Regions from separate parts of the Homo sapiens genome. Here regions 2, 3 and 4 are each linked to region 1. Evidence: promoter capture Hi-C in 16 types of primary human blood cells and fetal thymus (Javierre and others, 2016). All regions are on one chromosome and are shown on one strand. The core of a region is centred on a gene start or on the middle of the fragment in contact, and the rest is flanking DNA. Distances in the headings are between cores, read along the strand shown. Region 1 holds the start of CD2AP (CD2 associated protein). Region 2 overlaps C6orf141 (chromosome 6 open reading frame 141). Region 3 has its middle 3.2 kb from the start of RHAG. Region 4 overlaps CRISP2 (cysteine rich secretory protein 2).

Region 1 (3,419 bases), core at 550-3,049:
CTTTAAATATTAAGGATTCTAGAGACCTAGAAATTTAGTCTCTAGAAACTTAAGGGCTCTGGGCCTTGAATTTACTACCTATGTATGTGCTTCCAATAGCTTATATTTTTGTCTCCTTTCATGAATCCTTCTTAGCCCATCACCAGCCTCATTCTTCCAAATCGTAAATGGCCTTCCTTATGGGCTGCTTGAGCCACACACATTTCTTAAAGGCTCAGAAATACTCTGTTTGCATATCCACTTCCATTCCTCAGTTCTAGGACTCCTCCAGACTGAATTATTGCCTTCCCCAAGCTTTCGTTCAACTCATACCTTCTCTTTACAGCTTGCTTTGCCCACAGTAATTTATTTTCCTTTAAATTCTCAAGCATTTGACCCTCACTACCTCATACTGTTAATTAACTTTGTGTTCGTATCTCACCCCCCTAGAAGAATGCAAAATCTCTGAGGATTAGCGCTGTACTTTAGCTTTTTATTTTTTTGCTTGGTAGGGGACAACGAACATAATGCTGAACACATATTTGTTACCTAAAAAAGGCACATGTTCCATGATGTCAATGTAATCTTGTTTAGGTGAGTATATTCAACTTTTTTCTTTTATCCTTTTTGGCTGCTGTTTGTGAGTTTGATCATTCTTGTTATAAAATTACCACATGTAACCTTTTGAGAAGCATTAGAAGAATTAAAAGATGGCAAAAGCAGGCCTATAGGAAATAGTGGTAATGGATACGTCCAAGGTTACTACTATGGGCCACTGTGCTCTGCATTGCAAGATTTGTTTGAACATACTCAAGAAATTGAAGTTCAGACAGGTTAATTTATCCAAGGTCCCACAAAAAGTAAATGGCTGTGCTGAGTTTCAAGGACCCATGTCTGCCTGGATCCAAAGGGCAAGTCAGTTTCAGTGCTGGATGACTGAGAATTACAAAATTTCTTGAAAAAGCACTAGGCACAATAGTTGGCGTTCAACAAACGCTCACACACACATCTGCCCTGGAATTGGGTCTACTTAAACAGAAGGGGGAAAAAAAGCTTGCTGAAATAATTATACTTCTTCGTAACTACCAAGCTCATGTTTGACTGACTATAGTAATCCTATGCCCTCCTTCACATTGACGCTAGAAAAAATGCCTGGCAGTATTTCAAATCATGATGCCTATTTTTCTCTCGATCAAGTAACAACTCAAATTATACTTTAAAAAGAAAAAAAGCAAATTATAAAGTTGCATTCAGCTGACAAGAGACTAAAGGAATCTGTGAAACAGAATTTATTTGATGCCTAGGTTTCTCCCTCACCCGACGAAGACCAAATGCTGCTGATCCGTAAGTAACTTCGCAAGGTAAACTGAGGGGCCTGGCAGCATCTGGGCCTCCCTTAAAGGTCGAAATCAAGTGCGCTCGCCCTCCTTCTGTCCGCCTTTTCCCTTTAAGGTCCTCGAGGCTGCTTCGCTGCAGAAAGTAACTCCGCGTCGCCGCCGCGGAAAGTGGGGCAACTTTGCCTATCAGCAGAAACCTTTTGATCCATCTGAGGCGACAAACCAGACCAAACGCCCGCCCAAGCTGTTCCGAGCCTCCGGGGGGAGAGCGAGCCCAAGCTCCTCTGCACCGCTTCCTCATCCGCTCGCTGCACCTGGACGCGGTCGGCGCGCGACCCCCGGCCGTGACGTCACCGCACCTGGCAGCAGCCGTGGGGACCGGGAGAGAGCCCGAACGCGACGGGGCGGGGTGGGGCGGGGAGAACGAGGGCGTTCTCGCGAGATTTGCCTCCTCCCGGTCCCAGCTCCCCGCACCTTCTCGGCCTCTGTCTGGGTCCCCACCTTAGTCTACGGTGTCGCCTTTTCTAACTGCGAGTGCTAAGGAAGAGGCGAGGGGCGGGCTCCGAGGCTAGGCGGGCGCTCGGGGTTGGAGCCGAGGGTCTGGGCAAACCGGTGGGTCCCTCCCCACTGCGGGAGCGGCCAGGGTGGGAAAACCGCGGTCGGGCGGGCGGGGTAGGGCCCTCCCGCCGCCGTGGCTCCTGGGGAGGCCAGGGGTGAGGAGCTGTCGCCGCCTTTGCCTCTGCCTCGAGGGCCGCGCTGAAGAGACTGGTAGGAGAGCGCCGCGGGCGGATGGAGGCGACTCTTCGCCCCGCCTGAGCTCAGGAGGGGCTAGCGCGGAGCGCGGGTCCCGCCTCCAGCCGCGGGAGCGGCCGCGCGAGCCACCACTGGAGGAGGAGGAGGAGGAGCGGACGTCGGCTTCTCCCCGCGGGAGCCCCCAGCATGGGTAAGAGACTCGGGCGCTTCCCGCCGCCCGTCCGGACCTTCCAGACCCGGGGAGGCTGTGCCCTTTCTCGGCCTTCTGGGGAGGCGACTGCGGTCAGCCCCTGAGCGGCAGCACCCCACCCTCTCCATTCTCCCCACCGCCCCTTCTTGCCCTGCCTTCCACCTTGCTCTTCTCACGGAGAAACTGGTGGGAGAGCTCGCGGGTGCTTTCCCTCGCTCTCCCTTCTCCGCCTCTTTTCCTGTTCACCAGAAAGGTGCGGGATGGGGGGCGGGGGCGCCTGGCCACCTCTGCTAACCCCTTGCCCAGCTAAAATCAGACCTGACCTTCCTTCCCTTCCTCATCCCCTTGCTTCCCTCCCCCTCCTCGTGGGATGGGGGAGGGCGATCGAAAAACTTGATAAAGTAGCACTTTCAACTTCTTTATTTTCTGCGAGGCTTTGAATACGTTTAAGGAGAGAGATAAATTTGTTCAAAAACTTTTTTTTTTTCCTGCTGAAACTCGCAAGGGGTGCCTCAAGGACAGGAAAGCTTGAGTATTTGTTTTACTCGGGTTCTACCTAGGCAAGTGTGTTGGCACCTAAGCATTCAGTGTGCTCCCGAGGACTGGGTTTGGACTTCAGTGTTGGATCCTTTGAGGAGCAGTTTCCTGTTTGGAGTTAGACTTCCTTGCCGGAGGAGAGAAAAATACAAGGCCTTATATGTTATTTACTATGTGCTTTATAGTTTTGTTTGAAGTTAGAGAAGGCAGAATGTGTGGCAGTCCGGGTTGAAAAGGAGTTTTGTTAAGTGGTGTAACAATTTCTTTTGATAACAAAGTTCGGTGTGGGCTAGGCATTAAACTAACTCCCTCAATCCTTTAAAAATTAAAAGCAACTTAAGAATAGCTTACAAAAAACAAAACACCCTGTGTCTCTATAAGGCAGAACGTGTTCTGTAAGAGTAAACCCAAGTTTGATTTTTGTAGAGCAAATCAGGAGGACCCTATCACTTTTTGCAGTTGAGAGTTGGTACTGCTTCATATCAACAAACGATCACCGAAATGAATAATTCATGTAATTAACAAATGATTTAGAAGCAGGACGAATACAGACTACTGCTGATGTGGCACCCTCTGTCCACACTTTGCTTTGTGGGGGATGTTTTGAGCATATTGTTTATAGA
Region 2 (3,325 bases), core at 431-2,930, 2.1 Mb after region 1:
TTGCATTTTGGAATAACTCTCAATTGATCTCTTTTCTGTTCCCCGCCCCCCTCTTGTTTCTCTTTAGGACCTAGAAACAGAAGTGAAGTTTGAAGTCTGCTCTCTGCAAAGAGGGTGGGAGTGGGTGGAGAAGAGGCTTGTTTTAAAAGCCAAAAACAGAAAGTAAAAAGAAATGGGAAAGTAAAACCAAAGCAGCAAGTGACTCTCTTCTGATGTGCACTTTTCATTTTTCTCCCCCACATTTCAGTGTTAGAAAGAAAACGAGAGGAGCTAGGGAAAGAAGGAGTTGGGGACAGAAGACTAAGATTTCAACGTGAAATTCCATTTACAAAGGCTTTACTGCAAACAATAGCTAATTTAGTCCTGTAAACATGCATTTATCATACATTTTAATTTTAATATTAAAAATACTGCATGTAAATGTTCTGAACTAAAGGTAGATAGCAATATGTAGTTTGCCATAAAATGAATGCATGTCTTATTCTTTTCCATAGTTCTTCATTAATGAGACTTGTAGTCAAGAATAGATTGAAGATACCATTCTCCTTGTGTAGTTCAAAAAAATCTCCTCTGGTAATACTGAAACAACTAATTTTTCTTATTTTGTTTGTTCCTCTTTATTATTAAATACTATGTGAATTAACTCTTTAGTAGTTGGCCTGGTTGAAGCTCTGTGAGGAGCAAAGCAGCCCTCTCCAGGTGAACTGCTTGACTTTACCACCTGAAGGAGTATTTACTGCAAGAATTAACAAAGCAGGTAGGACTCTGGCTTTTGATGAGCAAATAGTTGAAAAGTGCCTCCTTCCCCAGTCTTCCCTTTTGCCTTCATTTTTAGTTTAGAGCTTGAAGTGTTCTCAAAAGATCATCTGATCTACCTCTTGCCTCCTGGCAGGCCAGATAGATAAGATGCCCCTGTTTTACTCATGAGCCAACCTAGGCCTAGAGGTCTTGTAGCATGTCTAAGTCACACAGCTAGTAATTGCATATGCTTACTAAGTGGATGAAGAATGTGATAATCTCCCTCCTAAAGGTTTGGGGCAGCCTTTAGAGGATTTATTTGACCCTTACTTAGGGGTCAAAAGATGCCTGAGGATATCCTAGGTTTTCTTTCTTTTTCTATTTTTTTCTTTTTTTTGAGACAGAGTTTCTCTCTTGTTGCCCAGACTGCAGTGCAACGGCACGATCTTGGCTCACCACAACCTCTACCTCCAGGGTTCAAGCGATGCTCCTACCTCAGCCTCCTCAGTAGCTGGGATTACAGGCATGTGCCATCACCCCGGCTAATTCTGTATTTTTAGTAGAGATGGGGTTTCTCCATGTTGGCCAGGCTGGTCTTGAACTCCCAACCTCAGGTGATCCTCCTGCCTCCGCCTCCCAAAGTGCTGGGATTACAGGTATGAGCCACCATGCCTGGCCAATATCTTAGGTTTTCTAACTCATGTTTATGAGAAGTACTAGAATCACCTTAATGTTCCTGAATTCTGCAAGGCCTCTTGGCTGGAGAATCATCACTAGCAGTTCTTAGGCCTGTGAGACCCTCACTTGGGAGAGGAATTCAGCATCTGAGCTCATCTGTGTTCAAAATTGCTTGACAGGTAGAAAAGATTCATCCCTTAAAATGAATCTCTTTTCCTTAACAACCCTCCCTGACTCCAGTGGGAGATTAACTTACTTGGCATGTAAGTTTCAGACCTGAGCTTATTAATTTGGTTGAATCATCACATGTCCCAGGTGACTAATCATTGAATATAGAGAACAAAAAAAGTCTCTTTCACAATAACCAAAAATGGTAAGTAGCATCACTCAGCTGCCTTCTCTGGAGGCAATTTCTGGCGTTCAGCTGCTTGGGTTCAAAACTGGCTCTACCTCTTTATTAACTTGTGTCCTTGGGCAAGTTGCCTTATCTCTGTGTGCCTCTGTATCCTGATTTGTTAAGTGGGGACAATAAATAGTATCAACTTCATAGAGGGTTTTTTTTTTTTAGGGTTAAGTTAAATGAAAATACTTAGAACCCTGCCTGTCATACAATAAATCCTCAAAGTTAGTTACATTTTTTATTATTAGCACGGTTATTGTTTAGTTCACTTTTCATCCTAACTAGGCTTTAGTCTTTTGTTTAGTAACAAAAAGCAGAAATTGTATAACACAAGAAAGCTAATGAAAGTCAAGCCGGTGGTTTTTAATAAGACTCTTCTCTACTCCTGAAAGAAAGGACTTATTTCTAGCTTTTCCTAACCTTTAATGGATCAGTAAGTATATTTCTTAAATTCTTTAGAAATGACCTTCACATCTTCTGTAGGGACTCATGGTAAAGCTCAAAGGACTAAGGTACACTATCCTTAACAGTCACTGAAAAGAGTTTACATACCTCCTAGTTCTGGGCAGATGGGAGCTTTGAATACTTTCTTTGACCTGTCAGGTTAGTTTGTTTTCCCTCTGGGATTTTAAATCTGATGCCCTGTTGTCTAGAAAAGCAGAATAGACACAATTTGTTTTCATTTTGTCTTTCAGCCAAAAACGTATTTAGTCAAGTTAGCTTAACTCCTTTAAACCAAATATGTTTGAGTTAATTTTGTTTTGTTTTTGAGACAGAGTCTTGCTCTGTCGCCCAGGCTGGAGTGCAGTGGCACGATCTCTGCTCACTCCAAGCTCCGCCTCCCATGTTCACACCATTCTCCTGCCTCAGCCTCCTGAGTAGCTGGGACTACATGCGCCCGCCACCATGCCTGGCTAGTTTTTTTGTATTTTTAGTAGAGACGGGGTTTCACCGTGTTAGCCAGGATGATCTCGATCTCCTTGACCTTGTGATGCGCCCGCCTCGGCCTCCCAAAGTGGTGGGATTACAGGCCTGAGCCACCATGCCCGGCCTGTTTGAGTTAATTTTAAGTGATTTTTTTTTTCCTTTTCTCACTGTTTCAAGCAATGAAAATTTATTTTTAAAGTGCTTACTCAACTTCCCTATTAACTGCCTAGAACATGTTTATAGATTTCATTTAATATAGAGTTCCTTTTCATTGGAAACAAAAAGTAGTAAGTCCAAATACTGTTGAATTTGCTTCACAGGTGTTCCTGATCCAAGCAGAACCCTGTTATTTGAAGAGCCTGAGAAATCTTATCCCGTTTACAAATGTCCTGGGAGTGCATCCAAAGTGAAACTTGGGCATCCTCAATACTAAGAAATCTCTGAGAATGACTGGATCTTGGCTCTTTGATCTTACCTCTACTCCTCTGAAAAACATGATTATCTAAAATTGTGTTAGGTGGATGAACCGCATCAAAGACTTCCAGAAGCCACTCCAGTGACCATAAGATAAATGTCAGAATC
Region 3 (3,486 bases), core at 841-3,340, 2.2 Mb after region 1:
ATCAAATAATAAATTGCAAGAACATCTAAACAATATCATAAACCAATGCGGTTTTAAACTCTTTAATAAAAAGTGACACAGTATATTAAACAATCCAAGACCGATGGCATCTCTCTTTCTCTGGGACATTTCCAGCAGCTCAGCAACCACTCAACACATGGGGAGTAGAGGATTTTACTCATATAGGTGATGGGACTATGCCAGCACTTGACTTCAGCCTGTTCAACTTCGAGGAATTCAGATTTTTTGCCTTATTCTGAATGTAGACATTTGTATTGAAATAAGCTGCATTGTCTACCATCTGGGAAATTATTTCTCTTGTTCAGTTCTTCACATAAGCTTCTCTTTGTAACTGGAAATCTTCCCACATATTCTCTGCTCCCTGTCCTATATACATCATCCATCATTCTTCAGTTTTCAGATAAAATGATACTTCCTCAGAAAAGCCTTCATTGATCTCCCATCTTGAACCAGGTTTCCACTATTATCTCTCATTGAATTGTGGTCTTTTCTTTGCAATTAGTACAGTTGGCTGTGTGTGCTGTATTTATGTAGTGTTTGTATTTATATGTAATTTTTAAGAATGGCCGTTTCCCTTACTGGCCTGTTAGCTCCAGGACAGGGGCTGTGTCTCTTTTGCACCTCATTTGTTATCTAGAATGAATAATACCATGTCTAGCACAATATATAATTGATAAACATCATTTGAGTGAATTGAATTAAGGGCAGACTTGAAGGGAGAAACACTCAGCAGGCAGGTCAGCGGTGTGAGGAAGGGAGAGAGGAACAGCTTTACTCTAATAAATTTCATTTTAAATTATAAATATTTAGAATCCTGACAGTAGCTTTCATACTGCTGTCTACTCTCTCATTATTTCAATCAGTGAGGGCTTATCATCAGGTTCTCTGCGCCTAGAACAAAAGGGAGGATCAAGCTCAAGCCATGAAGCTTGGGAGGGCCAAATTCCTGGCAGACCAACATATGGTAGTGTGAACCTGAAGATTTCAACAGCTTTTTAGAAATCTCTTTCCTGACAGTTCTGAATCACAAAGACAATAGGCTGAGGGTGTGGGTGTCCTAAAGTGGAAATGATTTATCTGTTGCCTTGTCTGCCTATGAAACTACAGGATGGCTTTCTTCTAGTGCCTTCAGTAAAAGAGGTAAAATCGGAAAGAATCATGAATGGGTAAGCCACGTTCTTGTGCAAACCAAACCAAACAAAATAAAACACACACCAAGCAAATGAACCTTCAACTTCCCAGCTAAATACACAGATACAAACGAAGTATTCCTGGGTTAATGCAGGAGCCAGTGGGCTACAAGGGATCTTTGATCCTCAACTTGCTGTGTGACTTTAGGAAAGAAACAGTTTCTTTGCCTTATTTTCTGAATATATGTAAAACGTAGCTAATTGTTATTATTTGGAATTTTAATTTGAGTTTGCTTATTTTTAATAGCAAAGAATAATTGAAACAGGACCACCACTGTTTTAAACTGTCTCTTTCTCTCTACCTTTGTGTATTTGTAATGGTGGTGGGAGGGTGGGAGGTATTTAGGAAGATGAAGGTACTAAAATACCTTAAGCATTTTCTGTTCTGGACACTGTGTTAGGTGGCTATTTACCCACCTTGTTTAGTCCCACTGCAATTTTATACACACACACATATATTATTATTATTTTTTTGAGACGGAGTCTTGCTCTGTTGCCCAGGCTGGAGTGCAATGGCGCGATCTTGGCTCACTGCAACCTCCACCTCCCAGGTTCAAGTGATTATCCTGCCTCAGCCACCTGAGTAGCTGGGATTACAGGCGTGCACCACCACATCCAGCTAATATTTGTATTTTCAGTAGAGGCGGGGTTTCACCATGTTGGGCAGGCTGGTCTCAAACTCCTGATCTCAGGTAATCCACCCACCTTGGCCTCCCAAAGTGCTGGGATTACAGGTGTGAGCCACTGTGCCTGGCCTGCAATTTGATATATTTTTATACTTTGCAAACATAACTTGTTCCGTTGGTTTATATGTGTAGCTACTTAAGCACCCAACTGCCATACTGGTATGAGGTCCAGTGACTCTCTTTTTGTGCTTCTTTAATGTTTTCCTTCCAAAAAGAGACCATGGGTTTTATTTAGTCTAATAGGATGGCCAGTCCAACTTCTCTTCCCAAGTGAGGAGCAGACACAAACATTTCTTGCTGCCATAGGGGATCTGGTGAAAGAAAAGGTCTTTCTTCCCATAAAGGTTCTTTGCAACTTCTCGGATCTATGGTGGATGGCCCTGTGCCCTCCCCTAGGGCTTTCTTTTCAGCTACCTGGTGGCACTCAGCATTATTTCACAGAACACTGGAATTGAGCAGGGTTACGGGACCAGAGAAATCAGCACTAGCATTTCCAAAGCAGCTGCCCAAGGCTTTGGAACTTACCTTAAGCTAGGGACCCTTAACATTTTTGTGCTATGGACACTTTTGGCACAAGCCTCTGAATCCCATATCAAAATAGATTTTAAATGCACAAAATAAAATACATTGGATTACCAAGGAAACCAGTTCTATTGAAATACACCGATCAAAATACTGTAATATAAAAGAAGCACCTATACCCAACTGTCTGATATAGGTGCTTCTCTATAATGGATGAAATAAATCTTGTGGCATGTCTAATAATGAGCATAATTTCCAAGTTGAAGTAATGAGTGTAAATAATATTTTGAGATATCTGAAAAAAGTAAAAGAGAGAAAATTATTTGTGATTTATATTAGTGGCAGTTATCAATACTATTAATGATGCTGTTGTTTATTTTCTACATTCACAATAGAAAAAATGTTACATTTCAGTTAAATGCACTGTTGTTTCCCTATTTAAATATATGGACCATCTGAATTATATTTATAGAACTCCAGGTTAAAAATGCCTGTTTTAACTATGGCCAACAGCTTTATTTCTCTTTTTATTCAGTCTCAGGAGGCTTCCTATCATTTCTTGCCCCTGGTAATTCTCACGGACATATTAGTTTATGTCTATGAATTGTGTTAACTCTGAATTCCAGGGAGATGTTGAAGAATATCAGTTAAAATCTTCCCAGGAGGCCCCTGTATTCTTTAGACAAGTTGATTTTTCACTTTTCATGTGATTAACTTTGCAGAAGAAGAGCTAGAGCGCCTCTGAAGTAATCTTTAGCAAAGACAACAAAACTAACTCGTCCAAGTTAAAAGAGAACTCTATAGAGAGATGATAAGCTTGAGGCTCAGAGAGTTTCAGCAACTCGTTCAAAGTTGCACATCGGGTAGATGGCAGAGCCATAATGAATACAGGTTTGCCCAATTTCCTAAATTTAACTTCTTTCAGCTATACCATATTGTTTTTCTTTTTATAACCATTTATTATTTATTTATTTATATGGCTACATAATTGCTTGTAGCAAGATATCTCATATACCCCATACTGTTTTTCTATGTGAGATAACTTATGCTCACACTGATCTCAAGGT
Region 4 (3,331 bases), core at 508-3,007, 2.2 Mb after region 1:
ATATAGCTGTGTGTGTATGAGCTCTTGGAAAATTGTGAAACAGATATAAAAGGATTTTAAAAGTTCTAGTTCCCTTGGCTTCCCTCATGATCTATTCCAACTGTCACTTCTGACACCTGGCTGCTGATGCTTCCCTCTGAGGGCCAGTAAGTGAGTTTGGATACATTCTCCCAGGGCCTTTCAATTCTCTCTACTTGAATCCTAATAGGTACTTTAAAGAAAATGACTTTGGAGGTTATACTTCTCAAACTGGAATCGTACATCATCTTCGCTATCTACAGTCTCGAAACAAATCCTGTAGCTGTGCCCCCCACCGCAGCCTCCAGTAGTAAAGAATTTCAAACACTAAATTTGATATTGTGAATATCTTCTTAAAATATCCATAGGATTTATTGTGGATAACTCTAAACATATTGTTTAATGAAGAAGCATGTTTACTGCTACAAATCAAACCTTACAAGATGGTTAAAGAGCTTTCTGTGAACAATTCTGAGAATCAGAGACTTAAGATGTTATCTTTTCTGTATTCTGAAATAAAGATGTCCTGAAAAGCCATTGAAATCCAAATGAATGAATAATTTGTAATGGTAATTGTGTGTGGTGGTGTGTGTGTGTGTGTGTTTTACATAAGCAGAAGTAGGAATATTTGAGCAGAAAGGGCCAAAATCACAATCCATCTTCCATTTGCAATCTCACCAGCACCCTAAAGCATCTATACTCCTAGAGTATGAAATTAGCAAGATGTGATGATACCAATTCTAGAGAAATACATATTACACATGCTCACAGAGTAACCCTAAGCTGAGGGAAGGCCAATTGAAAGAAAAGACATTATTCTGTTAATGAGGAATGAGAGCTTCAGTTTTTATACCTGAAAGTGAGAAGTTGTTCTCCTCTGAGAAGTTGAAAGTGTCTCAACCTTAAAAAACATTTCCAAACGTTTATCCCCTCCCTTTTATTGAGATATGTTTTCATTCTGGTTTAAGATATGAGAATTATTAAAAAATAAATTGCAGATAGAATTATTGCCATTAAACTCTAAACAGTCTACTTACGCAGGACAATATTGGCAAACATAGTAGTATTTTAGACTATCTTGATTGGGACAGTAGGCAATTCCACAGCCTACCTGGTAAGTCGAGTACCAAACAAGCTGCAAATTAACAATGGAATAAATATATAAAAGTACATTAGAGAAGATGAAAAATATTTAAAAAAGTAGCAAATATAAAACTGAAAAATGTTAGTTTTATAGACATATACCATAAAAATATTTAAATTATTGAACCAAAGTCATAAACTTTAAAAATATTTAATTTTCATGTACATTCATCACTTTAAAATTTATAATGTAGGAACAATACAGAGTCTGCTTTCCTACTAAGAGTTTGGCTGACCATGGACAAAAATGACAGCTCTACAACAGCCAAATGCCAAGACTGTATTCTACCCACTCGGACTGTTCTCCTAAATTGAACATTACAGTGGTCATAATTTGGAGAAGCTTTCCTCTATTAGAACATCTGTGACATAGGTATTTTCATGCATTCTTCTTACCTGAGTATAATGTCCAACAACTGCATTGGGACTCTTTGGTCCTACACCATAGACAAAATCTAGGATCTCGTCATACCAGCTTTGGATTGCAGAAGACCAGGAAGTAGGGTCACTTGACATATAGAGATTCTCACCACATCTTGTACCTAAGGGGCAGATCATTCATGAGCAAGGTAATAAACATGCAATGGTAAAAGAAATTGACTACACAAACACAAAGATGTTGCCTTTCAAACCCAGGGTCCAGCAGATGCTAACTGTTGATTAATACATAAAGGAGTGCCTCAGTTCCTTATCAGCTATAAAGCTGATTAGAACACTTAACTGCCTGACACACTGAGGTTGGCCTGACCACATAAAACTTTGAGTAGGTTAACACTCTGCTCCTTAAAAATGCCCTTGCATGCTAAATTTTCCACATGTGTATGCCTTGAGTGTTCCCAGCTGTATATGGTAAGCTTGCTAAAGGCAGTGACCAACTCTTATATTCTGTTTTCTGCTCTAGTAACCCTCAACAGAGATTTTTCAAATATAGGACCCCAAATAAATGTATAAGACTTTGTGTGAAATCTGAAAAAAAGACTTTATAGGCTGTCTTTAAGAGTCCCAATCAAGAGAAAACTGACACCAGGAAGGATAACAGTTTTCAAAATTTATGGGTTTTCTCTTAACCAGGAAATCAGATATCACAAGCTGAAATCCTTGTGAGTTTGTCAAGAAGTGCCTTACAGCCCAGAAACACTTCATAAATTATTTGGGCATTTACTAGTTTTTATAATCCTTGATATGTCTTTTTAAAACTCGAATATAGTATTCTGTGCATTGTAGGTATCCAGTCCACACAAAATACTTGCTAGTCTGATATTAAAAATTAATATATTAATATATTCAAAAATATTCATTTTTATAGAAATTTTGAATACGATAAATTTAAATCCACTTTATCCACTTTTATCCACTTTAGAGCAAAACTTAGGAATAATTCATCATAAGTTCAATATATTTTATGGATACAAAAAATAGATTTCAAAACATCAGACAGCTACATAAATTAACAAAAAGGGCAGTGGGTTAGAAATCAGAAAGCTTGGTTAAAAATTTCTAGTATGACACTGTTTCAGATTATGTTCTTGGGTAAGTCACTTTTCTTTCAAATTCTGGCTTTCTAATCTTTAAACTTACAAAAAGAAAGATGATATAAAATCTGCTGTACTCATGAGCTGGTTGCAAGAAGCAAAATTATTTGCATAATGTACACAATAAAAAAACACAAAATTGTTCTTATTGTAAATACCCCTCTGTATACAGATACTTTGACTTCAAAAAGACAGCAGTATAAGTAACATTTATTTTCAAAGTCTTCTTATTATAGAGCATCCTACAATGCTCTATTATTATTTTATTCATTTATTTATTCAACAAATATTTACTAATTTACATACTGGTTTTGCGGTCCTCTGGATCACTATGTTGTAAAGTGCACTTGTTTGCCCACCTTTGGGCATTCGTTGTTACCTCTCTGCTCCATTCCTAAACGTCACAAGAAAACAAAATACACTTAATGATTCAGCCACAATGAAACATACACTTTATAATCTGATTTGTAAATACTTTAAAATTTCTGTAGATGTATTCTCTAATACTACTGTTATTAAAATGTTTTTAAGTGTTTTTATCTCTTCTGGTGCCAGTTTACACATGATGGGTAGTCCATAGGTAATATATCTAAAAAGCAAAATAAGACAATAATATGTGATTATTTATGATAGCAAAG

Evidence for each region. Contacts are between HindIII fragments. The CHiCAGO score rates a contact against its expected background, and 5 or more counts as called.
Region 2: a contact is called between a fragment that was not itself captured here and the fragment with the promoter of CD2AP in region 1, in 1 of 17 cell types (endothelial precursors). The highest score is 7.2, in endothelial precursors.
Region 3: a contact is called between a fragment that was not itself captured here and the fragment with the promoter of CD2AP in region 1, in 1 of 17 cell types (erythroblasts). The highest score is 9.4, in erythroblasts.
Region 4: a contact is called between a fragment that was not itself captured here and the fragment with the promoter of CD2AP in region 1, in 1 of 17 cell types (erythroblasts). The highest score is 11.4, in erythroblasts.

What each region holds. Positions count from the first base shown.
Region 1 is chr6:47,475,990-47,479,408 of GRCh38, forward strand. CD2AP (CD2 associated protein) reads left to right here and starts at 1,800. Exons shown (of 18, transcript NM_012120.3): 1 at 1,800-2,259. The coding sequence starts at 2,256. CD2AP-DT (CD2AP divergent transcript) reads right to left here and starts at 2,083. Exons shown (of 1, transcript NR_187257.1): 1 at 1,254-2,083. RefSeq lists a silencer at 1,562-2,071 and an enhancer at 2,358-3,084. The HindIII fragment of the contact is 1,754 bases long and covers 1,031-2,784 here.
Region 2 is chr6:49,551,814-49,555,138 of GRCh38, forward strand. It overlaps C6orf141 (chromosome 6 open reading frame 141), which reads left to right. Exons shown (of 1, transcript NM_001145652.2): 1 at 1-282. Among named protein-coding and RNA genes, the nearest start is that of C6orf141, 2.8 kb to the left of the region's middle. RefSeq lists an enhancer at 1-175. The HindIII fragment of the contact is 5,833 bases long and covers 1-3,325 here.
Region 3 is chr6:49,638,344-49,641,829 of GRCh38, forward strand. No RefSeq gene overlaps it. Among named protein-coding and RNA genes, the nearest start is that of RHAG, 3.2 kb to the left of the region's middle. The HindIII fragment of the contact is 2,286 bases long and covers 948-3,233 here.
Region 4 is chr6:49,696,805-49,700,135 of GRCh38, forward strand. CRISP2 (cysteine rich secretory protein 2) reads right to left here. Exons shown (of 10, transcript NM_003296.4): 6 at 3,000-3,087; 7 at 1,558-1,703; 8 at 1,056-1,153. Among named protein-coding and RNA genes, the nearest start is that of CRISP2, 15 kb to the right of the region's middle. The HindIII fragment of the contact is 511 bases long and covers 1,503-2,013 here.